Linked DNA regions of Homo sapiens: region 1 is linked to region 2. Evidence: promoter capture Hi-C in 16 types of primary human blood cells and fetal thymus (Javierre and others, 2016). All regions are on one chromosome and are shown on one strand. Each heading gives the region's core, a stretch centred on a gene start or on the middle of the fragment in contact. The rest is flanking DNA. Distances are from core to core; before and after follow the strand shown.

Region 1 (3,524 bases), core at 603-3,102, 180 kb after region 2:
GGTGGCTCACGTCTATAATCCCAGCACTTTGGGAGGCCGAGGTGGGCGGATCACCTGAGGTCGGGAGTTCAAGACCAGCCTGGCCAACATGGAGAAACCCTGTCTCTACTAAAAATACAAAATTAGCCAGGTGTGGTGGTGCATGCCTGTAATCCCAGCTACTTAGGAGGCTGAGGCAGGAGAGTTGCTTGAATCCGGGAGGTGGAGGTTGCGGTTAGGTGAGATCGCACCATTGCACTCCAGCCTGGGCAACAAGACCAAAACTCCATCTGAAAATAAATAAATAAATAAAGGCACTTCCAAAGTCATTTCTGGAGGTTACATATCTTGGGTTTGACTTTTTTTTTCTCCAGGACCTACATGGGCACTATTTCTTATCACTGTGCCTGTATCTTGAGAGGTAGAGGGACCCATGCACTGGTCAGCTGTGCTGGTAAAGAGGCCACCATGAGATAGAAGACACTCCTCAGTGCCCAGGAAACACTTCTTGGTCTACTTCTTCCCATGGCACAATGCCATCTCACAGCCACCACCCTATACTCGTCTTTCTGCTGTCACCAACACAGAGGCAGCCAGTGAAGCCTGGATTCTGTTCTCAGTTCCTCCTGGTTCACTTGCCTCAGCATATTCAGGCACTGGGCTGGAGGTAAGCCCCTGGTAGGGTCTGGGTCAACTTGTAGAATTTCTCCCTATACCAGTGATTTCTGTCCTCCAGGCCTGCAACAGTGCTTCACCACCATCTAAGTCCATATTGTGCTGCTATAACAAACTGGATGATTTATAACAAACAAACATTTATTTGGCTTACAATTCTGGAGGCTGGAAAATCCATGAGCACAGAGCTGGGATCTGGCCAGGGCCTTTGTGCCACATCATCCCATGGCAGAAGGAGAAAGGGCAAGAAGGAAGGAGGATTAATGGGTCAGATAAATCTCTGATTTGGGTTTGACCCAAATCAGAGGATTTTGGGTCAGAGTCTCTGAAGTCAACTACATGCTATAGATGGACGTTGTTCCTAATGTCATGTCAGACATTCCAGGGACCTTGTCACTCACTCCTTGTGCCACAGGAAGCTTTATTCTCTTTGATTTCTTGATGCCTCCCATGAAACCCCTCAGGCCCTCTTGGTGATGACCACTTTTGCTTTTTCCCCTTCAAGCAAAAGCCAAAATCCTGTGAAGTTTGGTGAAGTTTTAATGAGCAAGTGTAGGGGAAGGAGTAAGGAGGGATCATGCTGTCAGCAGGCTCTGGGAACCGCATGGTCACGTAGAAAGAGAGATTCCTCGACAGTGGGGAGTGTGGTCATCACCTCAATCTCAGACACACATTGAGGTCAGGGGGATACCTCTCCACACTTGCACCATCTTCACAGACCCTGGCAGGAGTCGATGGGCAAAGCTGTAGCAGTGTTGGCCACTTACCATTACCTGCAAGAGGAAAAGTGCATCAGAAAGACAGTATTTCACCAAACAAGCTTTCAGCCTCCTCTCTACTCTGCCCTAGTACCTACAACACCCACCCAGAAAACTCCTAATTATACATCAAAACCCGGCAGACTCACTTCTGTTTACAGACTACATTTTGTGGCTATCTGAGACAGTTGCTCACTGCATTTTCAATGTTTCCTCTCATTCTTCCAGTGAGGCTCTACCCCTCTATGTCACGTGGTCCCTGTTTGCTGGATCTCCCCTCTAGCCTGGAAGATCCCCATGGCCAGGGATTGTGTCTCTTGACCTTGAATTCCTGCATCTTGCACAGGGCCTGCCACGAGGTTAGTGCTTGACAATGTTTATTGAATGGGTACTTTTAAGTTCCACCAACTGTGACTCCCATTCACTGCTGATGGCCCAGTTTCTCTTTGGAGTAGCCCAGATCTGGGCTGGAGGTGGCCAAGAATGAAACCCAAGTGTTCTTAGAGAGGAGGAACAGGACAGATGTTGCAAAACATAGGATATTATTTTAGCAGCCTATAGTAGGCATATGAACAGATGCCTCACTTAGAGCTGAATAAAATGTTCACCTTTTGGCCTACCCGTTAGAGAAGGTGAGAAAATTTCAATATAATCTGTATTGCTGTAGCTATGAAGAAAGTCATCTTAAAGGTATTAATTTATGAAATTTTAAGATTTTTCACACAATTTTCAACCAATTATTTTATGTCTTTGCAAGTATCCTCCAATGTAAGTATTGGTAGGTTGATAATTACAAAAGAGTTGATTAGAAAGCTTAATACAGCACCCTTTGTGAGAGCAAAATACTAAAAACCACGCAGTAACCATCAAAACGGTCAAGTTCAATCATTTTGGATCATCCTTCTACTGGCATATTATGCAATCTTTAAAAAATGAAGCAGCAGGCCAAGCGCAGTGGCTCATGCCTGTAATGCCAGCACTTTGGGAGGCCAAGGCGGGCAGATTACCTAAGGTCAGGAGTTCGAGACCAGCCAGACCAACATGGAGAAACCCCATCTATACTAAAAATACAAAAAATTAACCAGGCGTGGTGGTGCATCTCTTTAATCCCAGCTACTTGGGAGGCTGAGGCAGGAGAATCGCTTGGACCTGTGAGGTGGAGGTTGCAGTGAGCTGAGATTGCGCCATTGCACTCCAGCCTGAGCAACAAGAGCGAAACTCCATCTCAAAAAAAAAAAAAAGAAAAATGAAGCAGCACCATAGATAGATGAATTCTCCAAGATATGTTCTTTGACTATAAATCGACTCTAGTTTCCAAAGTGTAATGTACAAAGACATTTATAACAGCATTTGTTTAAAAAGAAATGAAAGCATATATGCATATATGTATATATGAATATGTGTATAGGCATATATACAAAAAGGAATGAAAGCATATTATACAAATGAGGAAGAGGAAATATACGGTTCTCTAATGGTAGATTATCTCTGGAAGGAGAGCAGAGAAGCTGGTAGTGTTGTTCTGGGGAGTAGGAGTGAGGTTCGGGAGTGAAAGGAAGAGTTAATTTTTGACTGACTAAAATAATTTGATTCATACATGTATTTTGTCTATTTGGCCACATGAAAATGTAAATAACAGCATGAGCAGAAATGACAGCTATGGAAATGATTCTCCACCTTGGGGGAAATGGCAAGTGAACCAACCTTGACCTTGGTCAGATTTGGGAAAGAGCTGAGGGTGGCAGTGCAAGCAGAGGGTGCTCTGTGATGAAAAGCCTGGGGCAGGAGTCGTTATGGGAGATGGGTCCCGAGGGACTGGTGGGGCCAGGGCAGGGAGAGCTACCTCCTGCTCTGGGAGTCCACAGAGGCTGCATGCTGGGAGCTCCTGGGGTGCTCACCTGGTCCTCCTTGTCCAGCACTCAGATGCGCAGGTCAAATGATTGGCCACCCTCAAAGGGCATATTGTCAGATTTCACCTCACACTTCCAGACCCCCCACTCATGGCTGTTCATGGCCACACAATGACCAAAGTGCACTCGGAAATGGAAAGCGATGTCTGAGTCCTCATCCATCCCGGTGTGGAAATCCACCTGCAGCTGTGGCTCCTTGCTG
Region 2 (3,485 bases), core at 984-3,483:
CTGTGAGAGTAGAGGCATGGGGTTGTCCTGTCAGTCATGTGAAGAGTGTGATGGAAAGACAAAGGCCAGGAATCACACTGATGTTTCTGTATAAAAGAAAGGAAGGGAGGGAGGGAAGGAGAAAGGGAATAAATGCGGATCTTCTTAAAAGAAAACACCGGTTATCACTACATGGCATAAAACCATGGCACTGAAAGTTATGCATTCAATGAATATTTATTGAGCACTTACCTTGTGACAGGCAATTTATGTGGTGCAGGGATGTTCCAGGATAGAGAGGTGACTGAGCAAACCCACCTTGCTGTATAGAGTGTTAGAACATCGCTGGAGGAACAGGAAAAACAGAACACAAAATAGAAAGAGTGCTCTGTAACAAGAAGCATGGTTGCTGGGTTCCAAACTGTGATTAAATTTTTTAAAAATTTTAACTGTATTATGACCTTTATTTTTAAAATGTTTATACAAATCATTTAAGTAATATAATACCTTCTTGTGGGTAAAATTCAAACATTACAGATTTATACCTTGACCTCATTTCTTCTAAACCCAGTGTCCCCCCCTACAAGGAATGCCTTCTTTTGACATTTTCTAGTGCATTTATGAATGTTTGTGTGTACTTATGAGATCAATTTTATTTTTTTGTCGTTAAAATAATTGGTCTCGTATTATGCATGTTTTCTTCATGCCTTTTCATACTACAGCATTTCTTGAAGATATAGCCATGCCAGTACTGATAATTTTGTTTTTCTTTTATATATAGTCTATGTACTGGCTACTTAATTAAAAACTGTACTGTAAAAAATTTCAAATGTTTGCAAAAGGAGAGAACTGTCATCCCCAGATTATTTTAGAGCAAATCCCAGATATTATATAATTTCATACACAAAACCTAAAGTTTTTCGGGGGAACAGTGTGTGCTTGGAAAGATGTAGTTGAAAAGAAAGACTGAAAGCAAGTCGTAGGGCATAATGGATTTCTGAAGAAATAGTTGCAACCAGCAGAAGTATGGGCTATTGTGCAGAGGATATGGAAGTTAAAGAAGATCAATCTCTCTGCATCACTGAAAGGATTGCTGGAATGCCTGAGAAGTAAATAACATCAACATCTTTATCCACAGCTTACTAGGTGGCCAGACGCCCTGAACTGATATTTCTTCCCCAGTTCAGATGAATAGCTGGGATATTACTCAAAATTCTATTGCATATCTGTTGCAAGGAAAAGCAGTTCCTCTTTCCCTTCTGTGGTAATTTCTTACAAGCTACAGTTCTGGGCAGGGTGTGAGGGTGGTTGCCTAGAACGGGGTTTCCAAAGCTCCTTAATTGTGGCCTCTGACCCTTTTCATTGCTTCCATGTCCATACCCAGAGTCAAAACCCAAGGAATGCAGTGGGATGACATTACAAATTAATCTTAAGGAAATACGTTATATACCAAAAGAACTGTGTGATTGTGCTGATTTATATGAGCAGAATCTTGGAGTGCATGCTTGGAAATGAATTGTCAAGGTTTTAGATCAGGGAAAGTGGAATTTATTGTCGGGTCAAGCACAACTAATATTAATGCTAATGCATCCTCATCGCTTAGCTCCCACTTATGAGTGAGAAATCTCACCTTTCTCCAAGAATCTGCAGGAGAACGACAGCCTCAGATTTTGATTCACATGAAAAGAAATAGGGAAATAAGAGGGCGTACCTAAAGCCCAGGTGTCTGAGAGACAGAGTGGGAGTGGCTCTCACCTGGCAGAGCCAAGGGATCTGAGGGTGGGTAAAGAAGACACAAGTGTTTTCTCTACTTCTGTCCCCAGGTCCTGCGAATGATCAAGATCTATGCTCTCCCAGAACCACTGGAGAAGGAGGAGGAGGATTTTCTTTCAAAGCCAAGTGCCTTGCCCCCAGGATCTCCAGCTTTTTACCATTGCACAGGTTAGGAGAACGCACACCTTCCTGGTAGATTCTGCACAGTGGAGAAAAGGCTTCATGAGAAGCATGGAGGCTGGAACTCACACCACTCATCCTCACTCCATCGTCTTTATCTGTGCATTTCCCTGGTGACCCCTTCCTCCTCCAGTACCTCCCTCACTGTCGTTTCTGCTGCATCACAGGCACAGGCCTCCAAACAGGTGTGGTTGTGACTGAGTCTGTTTCTGACACCCCACCCCTTCTCACTGTGTGAGGAAACCTTCCTGGGAGGGGCTTGGAATCAGGAATAAAGCCAGAGGCAGGGCTGATAGGGGCCATTTAAATTCTGCAGCTCAGAGATTCACACAGAAGTCTGGACACAATTCAGAAGAGCCACCCAGAAGGAGACAACAATGTCCCTGCTACCCGTGAGTTAAAAAGGCACAGCCTTCAATAATCTCAGGTCACACAGAAAAGGGAAGAGGGAGATTTTATGGGATGAAAATATGAAAATTTCTACTGTGAATGCTTTACTGAGAGTTGTGGGTGTGTGGAAGAGAGACCCTAGGGCTATGGTATCTGAGATGCTCCTGGGGTAGGGGGGTAGGGGGTGTGGATGCTGGAACATTGTGACCCTCTGTGAGCATGTGATGGTATCTGATGAGAGTAAACTCTGCTAAAAATGATGTGACTTTAGACGGGATGTGTATGGCCCTCCAGGATATGGGTGGGTGTGTAAGTGATTGTAATCAGGTGACTGTGTTTTGTCTTCATGACTGTGATGTGAGTGTGTGTGTGAGCACAGCCGGACCAGTGCATGAGCATCTTTATATGCACAGTGAGCAGGTGTGTGTGACTCAGTGAGTGGCACGGCTCTGTGTGACTGTGAGTGTGTGTGCTGGAATGTGACTGGGTGTTGAACTGGGAACATGCATGTGGCCTTCTGTGCATGTGAAGGTTCCTCCCCACATAGCAGTACTCTGTCTAACTTCCCTTGTGCATCACTGTGGATCCCCGGTGACAGAACTTGTGGGATCTTGGGGCCCTTGAGTTACCGAGGACTTATCTCTGAGCATTTATGAGAGCAGAATGCATGAATTCTCAGGTGCCTTTTCCCAAGCAGAATGGGGGTGAGAAACAGACGATGGGGCTGATGGTTCCTTAGGTGGAATCTGCACACAGTGACCACTGGCTCCTGCCTCCAGCCTCAGGTCTCTCCCTGTCTCCTACCCTAGCCTGGCCTTCCCATTGAGTGCCAGGATGCTAGAGAAGGACATTGAGGGACTTGATTTAAGAGACTGAATCACCCAAAACCAGGAAGGTACAAGGCAGAGCTTACAGTGGATATTCATCAAGATGTTTGCTGAGGCCTGTAGTCTCAGCACTTTGGGTGGCCGAATTGAAAGGCCCATGTCAGGCCAGGACTGGTAGACCAGCCTGGGAGACATAGCAAGATTTCATCTTTCCAAAAATTTAAAAATTTATTGAATGTGGTGTTGCATACCGTAGTTCCAGCTGCTGGGGGGCATATGCAAGAGGTTCACTGAAGCCCAGGCCTTCAAACCTGCAGTAATTTTTTTTTTTTTTTT

Evidence for each region. The method cuts DNA at HindIII sites, captures the fragments that hold promoters and counts their contacts. A CHiCAGO score of 5 or more calls a contact.
Region 1: a fragment that was not itself captured here is called in contact with the fragment with the promoter of CLC in region 2 in 1 of 17 cell types (megakaryocytes); the score reaches 5.2 in megakaryocytes.

What each region holds. Positions count from the first base shown.
Region 1 is chr19:39,553,143-39,556,666 of GRCh38, reverse strand. LOC105372399 (a long non-coding RNA gene) reads right to left here. Exons shown (of 3, transcript XR_935966.3): 2 at 3,311-3,521; 3 at 983-1,427. Among named protein-coding and RNA genes, the nearest start is that of EID2, 15 kb to the right of the region's middle. RefSeq lists a silencer at 631-690. The HindIII fragment of the contact is 751 bases long and covers 1,477-2,227 here.
Region 2 is chr19:39,736,777-39,740,261 of GRCh38, reverse strand. It overlaps CLC (Charcot-Leyden crystal galectin), which reads left to right and starts at 2,233. Exons shown (of 4, transcript NM_001828.6): 1 at 2,233-2,324. The coding sequence starts at 2,310. The HindIII fragment of the contact is 8,050 bases long and covers 1-3,485 here.